Linked DNA regions of Homo sapiens: regions 1 and 2 are each linked to region 3. Evidence: promoter capture Hi-C in human tissues and cell types (Jung and others, 2019). All regions are on one chromosome and are shown on one strand. Each heading gives the region's core, a stretch centred on a gene start or on the middle of the fragment in contact. The rest is flanking DNA. Distances are from core to core; before and after follow the strand shown. Region 1 overlaps PRMT7 (protein arginine methyltransferase 7). Region 2 overlaps CDH1 (cadherin 1). Region 3 holds the start of ZFP90 (ZFP90 zinc finger protein).

Region 1 (4,360 bases), core at 289-2,788, 210 kb before region 3:
CTGCTCAAAGCTCAACTCTGAGTTTCATCAGGCAGAAAGTACTTAGTTCTTTTATTTATTTATTTTTTTGAGAGAGAGTCTCACTCTGTCGCCCAGGCTGGAGTGCAGTGGCGCTATCTTGCCTCACTGCAAGCTCTGCCTCCTGGGTTCACCCATCCTGGCTAACACGGTGAAACTCTATCTCTACTAAAAATACAAAAAATTAGCCAGGCATGGTGGTGGGCACCTGTAGTCCCAGCTACTGGAGAGGCTGAGGCAGGAGAATGGCGAGAGTAGTTCTGACATTCTGCTTCTGCATACAACATGAACAATTTTCCTGTATAGCATTGTCTCTTAAGGTTTCCAGAATATGTATATGTACACACACACACACACACACACATATTTTTTTTTTGAGACGGAATCTCACTGTGTCACCCAGGCTGCATTGCAGTGGTGCAATCTTGGCTCACTGCATCCTCCACCTCCTGGGTACAAGTGATTCTCCTGCCTCAGCCTCCCAAGTAGCGGTGATTACAGGTGCCTGCCACCACACCTGGCTGCTTTTTGTATTTTTAGCAGAGACGGGGTTTCACCATGTTGGCCAGGCTGGTCTTGAACCCCTGACCTCAGGTGATCCGCCTGCCTCAGCCTCCCAAAGTGCTAGGATTATAAGCGTGAGCCACCATGCCTGGCCTCCAGAATATTTTTTATAGTCTAGAACTTTGTTTCAGTCTTTGAAAATTTCACATGCCACTGACACTTAGAGAACATAGTTGAAAGATTTGCAAAGGAAAAACTGTGGTGAAGTTATGGATAACACCATGGGTTTTTTCTAATTTTTTGTGGAGATAGGGTCTTACTATGTTGCCCAGGCTGGACTCAAACTCTTATGCTAAAGTGATCCTCCCATCTCAGCGACCCAAGTACCTGGGACTACAGGTGTGCACTACTGCACCTGGCTTTTTCACCACGGTTTTGGAGAATGCAGTATCATTCTGAATTGAAGCTTCTACCTAAGGTCAACATTATTCTCCCATTTAACAATTTTTTTTTAATGGAGAATCTGAAACATGTACAAAAGAAGTGGGTACTATCTTATTTATTTATTTATTTGAGACAGAGTCTCACTCTGTTGCCCAGGCTGGAGTGCAATGGCAGGATCTCAGCTCACTGCAACCTCTGCCTCCCATGTTCAAGCGATTCTCCTGCTTCAGCCTCATGAGTAGCTGGGATTACAGGCGTGCACCACCATGCCTGGCTAATTTTTGTATTTTTAGTGGAGACGGGGTTTCACCGTGTTGGCCAGGCTAGTCCCGAACTCCTGACCTCAGGTGACCAGCCTGCCTCGGCCTCCGAAAGTGCTGGGATTACAGGTGTGAGCCACCGCGCCCGGCCTATCTTTTTTATTTTTAAAATATACAATAGAGTGCTCAAATCATTCCATTTACAATCAACGTTATTGAAGTATGATTTACATTAAATGAATATCCATTTTCATTATGGATATTTGACAAATATAAACACACTTGTAACCACCATCACCATAATGAAGATAATAGAACATCTCCATCATGCCCAAAGAGATTCCTCATAACCCTTTCTATCAGTCCCCCCATATCCTGGTCCTAGGCACCCACTCATAGACTTCATTATAGATTAGATTTGCCTGTCTAGGATTTCAAGGAAGTGGAATCAAAGAAGTGTGGACTCTTCTGTGTGTGTGCTCTCTTTTTTATAGCGTGATGCTGGTAAGATTCTTCCACACTGTTCATGTCTTGGGGGTCCGTTCTTTTGTGTTACTGAGCAGCACTCTATTAGATAGATGTACCATAACTTGTTTATCTCTCTACCTGTTGATGGACAGGGATTTCTTGGATAGGTCTTTAGATTCACTGATCTTTTCTTTTGCAGCATCTAATATGCTGTTAAGTATATTTAGTAAACTTTTCATTTCTCTTTCTTTGTTGTTCTTTTTTTTTTTTTTTTGAGACAGGATCTTGACCTGTCCCCCAGGCTGGAGTGCAGGGGTGTGAGCATGGCTTATTGCAGCTTTGACCTCCTGGGCTCAAGCAGTCCTCCTGCTTCAGCCTCCTGTGTAGCTGGGACCACAGGCTCATGCCACCATGCCTGGCTAACTTAAAAAAAATTTTTTTTTGTAGAGATGGGATCTCAGTTTGTTGCTTAGGCTGGTCTCAAACTCCTGGGCTCAAGCGATTCTCCCACCTCAGCATCCCAAAGTCCTAGGATTACAGGCGTGGGCCGCTGTGCCTGGCCTCATTTTTGATATTGTATTTTTTAATCTCTGAAAGTTCCACTTGATTCTTTTTCATAACTTCCATTTTTCTCATGTTCATAGTTTTCTATAAGCACATTTATTTTAGCTTTTTGAACATCCTTATCTTCTGTTCCCACCATCTTTGTTTTTTCTGGGTTTGTTCTCTTGACTCATTTTTATCCTTATTCTGGGTCACATTTTCCTTCTTCACATGTCTAACCATTTTTGTTTGGATGCTGTGGCTATTTGGAATTCCCCATTGTTGAGTGCTAGACTTCGTTGGTTTTGCTTTTTAAACTTTGGCATGCAGTTGGGTTACTTGCAGTTCAGATTGATCCTTTCAGGGCTTGTTTAAGCTTTCTTTGGAGTGGGGTTAGAGTAGCTTTAAGTCAGGCCTTCTCAACAGTAGTGCTGTGACGTTTTGGCATTCTCCAACTATGTGACATTTTGATAATTCTTTGTTGTGGACCCTGTCCTTTGCATTGTAGGATGTTTAGCAGTGTCCCTGGCCTCTTCCCAGTGGATGTCAGTAGCACTCCCCTCCTCCCACCATTCTTGCCAACTAAAAATGTCTCCAGACTGCCACGTCTTCCTTGGTCTCGAGTGTGTAAAATTGCCACCTGTTGAGAACCACTGCTCTAAGGCTGTTTAGCCAGACAGTTACTGTAACCTTTCTGGAGTGTCTGCTGAGAGCTCTAGGTGCTCAGCAGGGTTTCCCTTGTCTGGCTGATCAGAACTTGAATGTTTCCCAGGCCTCTGAGAGCTCCGGAGATTGTTATCACTCATGCAACCTTTGCTCGGCTTCACAGAGTATTACCCTGTGTGTGTGTGAATGTATTAACACAGACCCTAGAGGAACCCTGTGCAGCATTCTGAAGGCTTTTTTTCTGTGTAATTTCCTCTCTGATTCTCTGCCTGGCAAGTTCCAGCTGCTTCCACTTCCCTGAACTCGTTTCCTGTCTGTTTAACTCAGCAAGACTGCCGTGCTCTGTGTCACCTCTTACCCTATACTGTGGTCTGGAAAGGGTCTCCTGGCTGATAGCCAGAGCAGGGTAAGGGTTACTTGGTTTGTTTCCCTTCTTAGGGAGCAAACTGTGTTGCCTCTTGCTCAACATCTGAAAACACTTGTTTCATATATTTTGCCCAGTTTTCTAGTTGATAACAGCCGGAGGGTAAGCCTGATCCCACTTATTCCACTATGGCCAGAGTGGAGATTGATTCATTTATTTATTTTTTTTTGAGACAGTCTCACTCTGTTGCCTAGGCTGGAGTACAGTGATGCGAACACAGCTCACTGCAGCCTCGACTTCTGGGCTCAAGTGATCCTCCTGCCTCAGCCTCCTGAGTAGCTGGGACCACAGGCAGGCGCCACCATACCCAACTAATTTTTTTGTTTTTTTAAATTTTTATTAGAAACTAAGTCTTGCGGCTGGGTGCAGTGGCTTATGCCTGTAATCCTAGCACTTTGGGAGGCCGAGGCTGGCGGATCACCTGAGGTTGGGAGTAGCAACCAGCCTGACCAACTTGGAGAAACCTGTCTCTACTAAAAATACAAAATTAGTCAGGTGTGGTGGTGCATGCCTGTAATCCCAGCTACTGAGGAGATTGAGGCAGGAGAATTGCTTGAACCTGGGAGGCAAAGGTTGCGGTGAGCCGAGATTGCGCTATTGCACTTCAGCCTGGGCAACAAGAGCAAAATTCTGGCTCAAAAAAAAAAAAAAAGAAAAGAAAAGAAACTAGGTCTCGCTTTGTTTCACAGGCTGGTCTTGAACGCCAGGCCTCACACAGTCCTTCTGCCTCAGCCTCCCAAAGTGCTGGGATCACAGATGGGAGCCACTGTACCTGGCGAGATCATTTATTCTTGAAAATTTATCCATTTTGACGGCAGGGAGACTGATCTGCAGGGCAGCCTTGGCCATGAAGTATGCTGACTCTGCCTCCAGGCAGCATTGTTCACACACACCTCAGCTTAGGCCAGGCCCCTCATATGATTTCTTATTAAAAAAAAAAATTTTTTTTAGATAGAGTGGCTCTGTCGCCCAGGCTGGAGTGCAGTGGCATGACCTCGGCTCACTGCAACCTCCACCTCCCGGATTCAAGTGA
Region 2 (4,844 bases), core at 1,371-3,870, 230 kb after region 3:
TCTCCACGTTGATCAGGCTGGTCTCGAAGTCCTGACCTCAGGTGATCTGTCCGCCTTGGCCTCCCGAAGTGCTGGGATTACAGGCGTGAGCCACTGCGCCCGGCTTAATTACGATTTAAGAAAAAAGATGAGTATAGGAAGAAGGTTGGATAGTGATGTGTTTGCCACAGACCTAGATCCCTGCTAAAAGCAGACCACAGATTTGACTCTGAGCAAAGAGGAAAACAAGATCAGTTGCGTAATTAGGTTTCTATGAGTTAAGCATAAATCTGTTCCTTAGAGAGGATCCAGTTTCTCCACAGAGCTCTTACCTTCATGTGATTTTGGCAACAGCTCTTAATACCTTGGACTTTCCATTGATATTTGTCATTTTGCAGCTAATACATGTTAGTTGTGGGGAAAACTTTGGAAAATATAGATAGCTAAAAGAAAAAAGCTGGGTGCAGTGGTACATGCCTATAGTCCCAGGTGTTCCCTGGAGGCTGAGGTGAGAGGATCAGTTGAGCCCAAGTGTTGAAGTCCAGCCTCCATAGGGAGATACCATCTCTTAATAAAAAGAACAAAAATATTTAAATTGTGTGTAAAGTCACTATCTAGATATCACCACCGGGGAACATTTTTGTATACATCCTCCTAGAAGTAAGGTCTCTATTATTATCTTATATGTTGTAATATAAATGCAAGTATAAGTAATGGCATTTTACTAAAGTAAATCGTTATCCAACACTCTCTGCCTCAGGGCCATGGTGCCTGCTGTTCCCTGTGCCCAGAGCACCCTTCCCCCAGGCATCCTCATGCCACTCTTGCTTATCTCTTTCCAGTCTCTGCTCAAACTGCCCCAGTTCTCAGCAGAGTCTGTCTTGGATAATAGCTCACATCTATACCCTTGTCACTGTACCGCCTACCCTGCCTTTTTTCCATGGCACTGATTACTATTCAATTTCATGATCTGCTTGTCTCCCTCTCTTTGAATATGAGCTCCTTGAGGGTGGGTCTGTTTTGTTCATTGCTGTACTTCTAGGGCTTGGGCTCAGAATTCTGCCCAGCATAGAGGAGGTCCTCAGATATTTGAATGACTCCACACAGCTATTTCTGTATTCATTACAAATACATCTATATCAATAACTACTGAAATATGCCTATAGAAATGTTTCATACAGTTAGATTTATGTGTATACTTTTTTTCAAAATCATGCTCTTGCTCTTCCTACTTCAATGTCTGTTGGCTGCTTTCTGATTCCTTTGAGGCAGCACATGGTAAGATGCCTCTAAATTGTACCGTGGCCTATCAGGTGTTCATAGAAAACCCTCTGCAAATGGAATTTCTTTTTTTTTTTTTCCTCTTTTTAATTGAGACAGGGTCTCACTATGTTGCCCAGGCTGGTCTTGAGCTCCTGGGATCAAGAGATCCTCCCGCTTCAGTCTCCCAAAGTGTGGGGATTATAAGCATGAGCCACTGTGCCCAACCTGCACATGTAATTTCATAATTAAAATATTTTATCCATGGCTGGGAGTGGTGGTTCACACCTATAATCCCAGCACTTTGGGAGGCCAAGGTGGGAGTATCGCCGGAGTCCAGGAGTTCAAGACCAGCCCGGGCAACATAGGGAGACCCCATCTCTACAAAAGATAAAAACATTAGCTGGGGCCTGGCGCGGTGGCTCACGCTGGGGACTACAGGTTTATGCCATCACGCCTGGCTAATTTTTTTGTATTCTTAGTAGAGACGGGGTTTCACCGTGTTAGCCAGGATGGTCTCAATCTCCTGAGCTCGTCATGATCTGCCCACCTCGGCCTCCCAAAGTGCTGGGATTACAGGTGTGAGCCACCGCAGCTGGCTTTTTTTTTTTTTTTTTTAAAGAAAATGGTAGCCTCTGATGGCTGCTGTCATGCCCCCGGTTGTTTTCAGGTCCAAGTCTATCTGGAGACCTTTCCTCCCTGTCAATTAGGGGTCCTTTCTTGGCTACTATTATGTTGCTTTCTTCATCTTTGCCTCAGAATCATAAAGTTGGAAGGGCTTTTGGGGCCACCTGGCCTAGCCCTCTCTGCCACCACCAGGTGTGTGCTCTGGGGAGCTCTGCCTCCTGTCCTAAAACTGTCACCTTCCTGACTGGGCCTGTCTTCCACAAGACATCGCCTGGCTAGACCCCCTCTGACTACATCTTTTCCTGTGCCTGGAAGGACCTCAGAGGTAAGTATTTGGGTCTCTTGTGTCCCATCCCCACTCCCGGAGCCCAAAGCTCAGTCCGCAGCACATAGAGGGCCCTTAGGGGATGTTCATGGACAGCTGAATGACTCTGCCTCTGCCTTCAGGTGGGTACCAGCCAGTTGACATCCAGATTCATTCAGAGCCTGCTGTGGGCCAGGCACCAGCCTCGCACCTTCAGGGAACGTGGCAATAAATAAGGATTTCAGAGGGCAGCACATTCTAGAAGGATGTAAAGCAGTGAAACGGGGTAGGGAGTGCCTGGGGTAGTGGTGCAGGGCCCCTTTAGCTGAGGAGTGGATCAGGCAGGAGGATGTTTGTGTGGTACCTAGTGGTAGAAAGGAGGACACCATGAAGAGAGCAGTAGGAAGAGAATTCCAAGCAGAGGAACAGCAAGGGCTGAGAGCCTGAGACAGGAAGGAGCGCAGTGTGTGGAGTGGGCAAGAGGCCCAGTGTGGCAGGGCCTGGTGGGTAGATGGGCTCACAGGCGGGAGATAAGCTGGGAGGGGAAGGCAGAGGCTAGAGCTGGTCTCTAGTTTTTTAGACCTTATCTTCTGAAGGACAGATAAGTGCCTCTGCCTCCATCAGCTTCCACCGAGACGAAGTGATGCAAACCAGACCGTGCAGCCAACTCCTGCGTCAGGTTCCATAGGAATCCTTTCCCCGCCAGTGGAGGAGGCTCTCCCGTCTTTTGGAAATGATGTGCAGGAGACAGAGCTGATTCTCATTTCTTCCATGGACACGGCTAAGTGCGGGCTGGTGTGTGAGAAAGGGTTCGGGGCGCGTGGTTGGTGGAAGTTAGCTCCTGGCTGTTCTGCCTTGCAGTCCCAGGCAACTCAGACCTTCCCTGGCTGCTACTCACACCTACGCTTTCCTACGCAGGCTCTGATCTTCTTTTTCAGCCCTAGAATCCCAGAATAGCAGCTAATGTGTATTGAGCCCTTTTTTCTTTTTCTTTTTAAGACAGGGTCTCACTTTGTCACCCAAGCTGGAGTGCAGTGCAGATCACAGCTCGCTGTAGTCTCGAACTCCTAGTCTCAAGCAATCCTCCCATCTGAGCCTCCCGAGTAGCTGGGACCATAGGCACGTGCCACCATACCTGGCTAATTTAAAAAAATTTTTTGTAGCCGGGCGCGGTGGCTCACGCCTGTAATCCCAGCACTTTGGGAGGTGGAGGCGGGTGGATCACAAGGTCAAGAGATCGAGACCATCCTGGCCAACATGGTGAAACCCCGTCTCTATTAAAAATACAAAAATTAGCTGGGCGTGGTGGCGCATGCCTGTAGTCCCAGCTACTAGGGAGGCTGAGACAGGAGAATCGCTTGAACCCAGGAGGTGGAGGTTGCAGTGAGCCGAGATCGCACCACTACACTCCAGCCTGGCGACAGAGCAAGACTCCCTCTCAAAAAAAAAAAAAAATTTTTTTTTTGTAAAGAGATCTCACTATGTTGCCCAGGCTGGTCTCAAATACCTGGCCTCTTGCCTCTGCCTCCTAAAGTGCTGGGATTACAGGCGCGAGCCACCGTGCCTAGCCCATTGAGCTTTTATTCTGTGTCTGACAGTGCTAAAGGGCTTTACGTGGATTAACTTGTTGAATCATCCCATCCCCTTAGGAAATAGAGACCATCACTATTTCTGTTTTGCATATGAGGAAATCGAGGCAGGCAGGAGAGGTGAAATCACATGCCCAAGGTGGCATAGTTGATAAGTGGATCTGGGGCTTGAACTTGGGTCGTCTGACCTCTGACCTGGGGCTCTCAACCACTTAATGCTACACTGGGACCCTGACTTAAGGACTCAGGGTCTAGGCTCCTTATCTCAAAATTGGCCCCGTGTTGCCACACAACGGCCAATCGCATATGTCCTTGCCTTGCTTACCACCTAATCGGGCAGGCCTAGCAGACAGGGACACTGCCTTTCTTATCCTCTTCGTGCCATGCATGGAAGGGCGGGGCTCCATTAGAACTTGGAAGCTTCCTCTCTAATTTATGGTTTGTCCCTCTCCAACATATGGGAGAGATAGATAAGTCTCTTTAATTAGTTCACTAAGATTAATAAGCCATAGACCCATCAAGGAAAATTCAATAAATGTTCACTGGGCATCTTTTATGCACCAGGCTCTGTCTACATTCAGAGCGAGAGAACAGTCACAGCTGACATCTATGGACCACTTACAACTGGCCTGGCTCTGGGCTAACCCGCACCGTATACAGATCTTATATATACTTCACTCCATACCCTGTGATGTAGGTCTTCCTCAAAATCACCACACTATGTCAAATTGCCCATGAAAAACACCAGACTTAGGCTGGGCACGGTGGCTCAAGCCTGTAATCCCAGTACTTTGGGAGGCCGAGGCAGGTGGATCGCTTGTGCCCAGGAGTTCAGGACCAGCCTGGGCAACAGAGTGAGACCCCATCCTAACAAAAAATACAAAAAGTACAAAAAAATTACCTGGGGGTCCCAGCTACCCAGAAGGCTGAGGTGGGAGGATCGCTTGAGCCTGGGAGGTCAATGCTGCAGTGAGCCATGATTGTGTCACTGGATTCCAGCCTGGGCAACAGAGTGACACCCAGTCTCAAAAAACAAAAACAAAAACCAAAACCACCAGGCTTATGGGAAAGTGGGTTTAGGAGCT
Region 3 (4,820 bases), core at 881-3,380:
TCTCACCCAGGTTGGAGTGCAGTGGTGCAATCTTGGCTCACTGCAACCCCCACCTCCCAGGTTCAAGCGATTCCCCTGCTACAGCCTCCCAAGTAGCTGTGAGTACAGGCGCACGCCACCACACCCTGCTAATTTTTGTATGTTTAGTAGAGATGGGGTTTTACTATGTTGGCCAGGCTGGTCTCGAACTCCTGACCTCAAGTGATCTGCCCCCCTCAGCCTCCCAAAGTGCTGGGATTACAGGCGTGAGCCACCATGCCCAGCCTGCAGTTGCCTTAAGTTGCAGCTACTAAGTCACTTGCCTCAGAGAGGCCTCCCGGTCCACTCTAATTCATACTTGTGAATTATGCATTCTGCTAATTCCAGACCACTATATTCACAAAGCAGTGATAGAAAGCATTCATTAATTTTTATATATATTTTTTGAGACAGTCTCGCTTTGTCGCCCAGGTCGGAGTGCTGTGGTGAAATCACAGCCCACCACAACCTCTGCTTCCCGGGTTCAAACGATCTTCCCACCTCAGCCTCCCAAGTAGCTGGGACCACAGGCGCACACTATTGCAACCAGTTAATGTTTGTATTTTTTGTAGAGACAGGGTTTTGCCATGTTGCCCAAGCTGGTCTTTTAATTCCTGGGCTCCTCCCTCCTCAGCCTCCCTGTGCTATTGACGTGTTATTTCATTACTTGTTAGCCCCTTGCGCAGGATTTTGTGTTTGGGACAAGCCAACAGTGATGGAAATTTTCTCCCTTTTTTGTTTTGTTTTTTTTGAGATGGAGTTTTGCTGTTGTTGCCCAGGTTGGAGTGCAATGGTGCAATCTCGGCTCACCACAACCTCTGCCTCCCAGATTCAAGCGATTCTCCTGCCTCAGCTTTCTGAGTAGCTGGGATTACAGGCATGCGCCACCAAGCCTGGCTAATTTTGTATTTTTAGTAGAGACGAGCTATCTCCATGTTGGTCAGGCTGGTCTCGAACTCCTGACCTCAGGTGATCCGCCAGCCTCAGCCTCCCAAAGTGCTGGGATCACAGGCTTGAGCCACCGCACCCGGCATAAAGCATTTATTTTTGAATGTTCATATTTTTGATAAAGCAGTGTGACATCAGGAACATTTCGTTGCAGTCATTTTCTACCATGTTGGTATGCAATGCTCTAATGTTAAGAAATCAAGCTGAAATCTAGGAAATGTAGCCTGAATGTCTGTGATATATAAGACATAATTACATAAACGTAATAGCTGTATCTAAAAGTTGACCTATCTTTGTGTTGAAAATTTCCATCGGGCCGGGCGCGGTTGCCCATGCCTGTAATCCCAGCACTTTGGGAGGCCGAGGCGAGTTCGAGACCAGCATGACCAACATGGAGAAAACCTGTCTCTACTAAATATACAAAATTAGACGGGCCTGGTGACGCATCGCATGCCTGTAATCCCAGCTACTCGGGAGGCTGAGGCGGGAGAATCGCTTGAACCCAGGAGGCGGAGGCTGCGGTGAGCCAAAATCGCGCCATTGCACTCCAACCTAGGCAACAAGAGCGAAACTGTGTCTCAAAAAAAAAAAAGAAAATTTCCATCATTGTTTGCTTGTCCCAAACAAAATCCTGCGTAAGGGGATACGAAGTAATGAAATAACACGGCAGTAGATCTGCCTTTGCACATTGCTCAGGAGGCCACGGATTTGTCCGAAGTTTCTTTTTTCTCTAAAATGAGAAATGGAAAATTGCCTTTTGAAGAAGATGTAAATGCCCCACCCTCTGACGCTGTCTCACTCCCTTCCTGTGTCACTCTTACCGCTGAAGTCAGGACCTGACATTATCTTGTTGACATGTTTGCGTTTTTATCGTCAGCCTCGTCGAAAGGGGCGTACGATTGCTCCCCGAAACCAGGGTCTTTCCCGGCCGATTCCCCAGCTAGCAACAAGCCCCTTGCAAAGAGGAGGCGGACAGTGACTGGAATACAGGGACACGCACACTCGAGCCACACTGGCCGCCTCCCTCGGCCCTCGCAAGGGTCCCTAACGCGCCTTCGGAAGCCGCCTAGGCGGGGCCTGCGCGCGCGGGCCTCTGGGAAGTGTAGTTCGCGCGCCCGGCGTGGACCCGGGGTTGCAGGAGCGAGGCTCCGAGTGCGCAGGCGCACTTCCAGTTCTGCCCCACCGCTGCGGCCATTGTCCGACCCCGGTGCGGCTGAGGCCCCTTTGGGCAGCCCCTCCGCAGATCAGAATTGGAGATAACCGAGGCTTCGGCGGGGGCGGGAGGAGCTGCCCGAGGCTCTGGGTGGGCCGGAGGTCGCGAAATCCGGAGCCCCCCAGAGGCGGTGATTCTGAGTGCGCGGGTCTGGGCGGGACCCCTCCTGGGTTTGGCGGGTGTCAGCCGGGCCTCGCCCACCACCCTGCGAAGGGGACTGGGCGTGGCCGGAGGGGGGTGTCCGGGAGGCCGCTGAGCCTTTCATTTCGGGGATGGGGAGCGGCAGGCCCGGGCTGGTTCCACGGTCCTCGCCACCATCTCCCCTGGAGATGTGGTTTAGGGGCGGAGGTGGGGCGGGGCGGGGCGGGGTGGGGTCGGTGTTGCAGCGGGGTGAGTGGGCCCTGTCCTTTCTCCCCAGCTCCTGCCCCGGAGCCGGGCCCTGGCGAGGCAGGAATGGCCCCGAGGCCTCCGACCGCCGCGCCCCAGGTGAGCAACGCGTTCCTAACCTCCTGGGCATCCCATCCATCTATCCATCCCATCTCCCAAGGGTGTTTGGAGCAGTCATTGTTCTCTGCCTGGCGACTCCCTTACTTGCTTGGCTCGATCGGAGCCTCCTGGCCATGGAAAACCCCAGGCTTTGGGGAGCTGGATTCCCAAAGGGGAGGCTGCTCTGTGGGGTAGAGAGGGCCAGTGTGGTGCGATCTTGTGGGAGGAGTTGAGATTGGATGCGTTGGGAAGTGTCAGTTTTGAGAGTCCTGAATGCCACGCCAGTTTTTTGAACTCTTGTCAATAAGAAATGGAGAGAGTGGGGTCACAGGATGGAACACTGTAGAGGAGGAAGTGACTGTCGGCAAGTGTGGAGAGAGGAGCCCCAGCTTCTGACCCAGGGCCCATAGAGAGTCCGTAAGGGGCCGTAGAAGCCTGGTTAGAACATGTCTAGGAAGAGGCTGGAGATGGGCTTTCTTGGGCAAGGAGGCAAAAACAAAACAAAATAAAAAACAACCAAAAATAAAACCAGGGCTGATTCTCCCAGAGCTTTTTGTGTCTGTCCTTTTCTGCTTTAACAAAAATGTAATAGAGCAACTCACTCCCCACCGCCAGAAGTCCAGCCTTCACCTTAATGTGAGGCTGATTCGTGAACCCATTTATTCTTGTGGCAGAGGGGGCATTTTCTAGAAGCGTCACAACTCTAAGGTTATCCATTGATTTACATATTGGTGAAAATACATCAAGATCCAGATGGTATCTGTATCTTTGAATCTACATTCTCTTTAGAATTAAGGGAAAATGACAGATTGTAGTTGCTAGGTGTGTGAGACATCAAGATCAATTCAAATAAAAATACCAAGTTGCCAGGTACAGTGGGTCACACCTGTAAGTCCAGCACTTTGGGAAGCTGAGGCAATAGGATCGTTTAAGCCCAGGAATTTGAGACCAGCCTGGGCAACATAGTGAGACTCCGTCTCTGCAAAAAAAAAAAAAAAAAAAAAATTTAAAAGATAAAAACACCAACTTAGTAATGTCCTTTAAAAGAGCAGTTTATAGTGAATTAAGCATACAATACATCATGCCTTTTTTTTTTTTTTTTTTGAAACAGGGTCTCTTGTCACCCAGTCTGGAGTACAGTGACATGATCTTGGCTCACTGCAACCTCTGCCATGGTGCACGCCACCATGCCCGGCTAATTTTTGTATTTTTTGGTTTATTTTATTTTTTGAGACAGTCTCATTCTGTCACCCAGGCTGAAGTGTAGTGGCATGATCTCGGCTCACTGCAACCTCCACCTCCTGGGTTCAAGTGATTCTCCTGCCTCAACCTCCCTAGTAGCTGGGATTAACAGGTGTACACCACCACACCCGGCTAATTTTTTTGTATTTTAGTAGAGTCAGGGTTTTACCATGTTGGCCAGTCTGGTCTCGAACTCCTGACGTCAATTGATCCGCCCACGTTGGCCTCCCAAGGTGCTGGGATTACAGATGTGAGCCACCACGCCTGGCCTAATTTTTGTTTTTTTTTGTAAAGATGGGGTTTCTCCAGGCTGGATTTGAATTCCTAAGCTCAAGTGATGTGCTCGCTTCAGCCTCCCAAAGTGTTGGGATTACAGGTGTGAGCCACCACAGCTGGGCATGTGCCACCATGCCCAGCTAATTTTTGTATTTTTAGTAAAGATGGGGTTTCACCATGTTGGCCAGGATGGTCTCGATCTCCTGACCTCCCAAAGTTCTGGGATTACAGGCGTGAGCCACCGGGCCCGGCCTGCGTTTTTATATATATATATACTTCTTATTATATGTTTCTGTTTTTACAGGGATGAGCCTTAAGGAGTAAGACACCTGCCAATACTAAAACAAGACAGTTACTTGGTTTGAGGAGAGCCAGAGCACATCATGATCGTTATCCCCTTTACATGCAAAGTATCCTCCATAGGCTTGTGAGAATTAGATGACTTAACACCTCATCAGGGACTCTGGTCTTTTCCATAGTGGGAGGATACCTTTTTAGTGGTGAAAGTGGATTCATGTTCTGAGCAGTGAATTTTAAGGACCACTGTAAACTTGACTTTTCAAGCTATGTTCCCTGAACGCCCTGGCTCAGTTGCATTCTCATTGAATGGCCTGATGATGTCCATGTGGGTTATCTA

Evidence for each region. Contacts are between HindIII fragments. The study calls those that stand out against the background at their distance.
Region 1: a contact is called between a fragment that was not itself captured here and the fragment with the promoter of ZFP90 in region 3, in 4 of the 25 tissues and cell types used here (dorsolateral prefrontal cortex, lymphoblastoid cells, pancreas and 1 more).
Region 2: a contact is called between a fragment that was not itself captured here and the fragment with the promoter of ZFP90 in region 3, in 2 of the 25 tissues and cell types used here (hippocampus and mesendoderm cells).

The regions. Positions count from the first base shown.
Region 1 is chr16:68,329,518-68,333,877 of GRCh38, forward strand. The region is part of intron 6 of PRMT7 (protein arginine methyltransferase 7); the gene reads left to right. It also overlaps the pseudogene RNU4-30P. Among named protein-coding and RNA genes, the nearest start is that of PRMT7, 21 kb to the left of the region's middle. The HindIII fragment of the contact is 4,800 bases long and covers 1-3,938 here.
Region 2 is chr16:68,768,141-68,772,984 of GRCh38, forward strand. All of the region lies in intron 2 of CDH1 (cadherin 1), which reads left to right. Among named protein-coding and RNA genes, the nearest start is that of CDH1, 33 kb to the left of the region's middle. RefSeq lists enhancers at 1-97, 1-101, 1,611-1,755, 3,966-4,260 and cis regulatory regions at 25, 29, 1,683. The HindIII fragment of the contact is 7,823 bases long and covers 1-4,844 here.
Region 3 is chr16:68,537,161-68,541,980 of GRCh38, forward strand. It overlaps ZFP90 (ZFP90 zinc finger protein), which reads left to right and starts at 2,131. Exons shown (of 5, transcript NM_001305203.2): 1 at 2,131-2,319; 2 at 2,598-2,665. The coding sequence starts at 2,633. The HindIII fragment of the contact is 20,432 bases long and covers 1-4,820 here.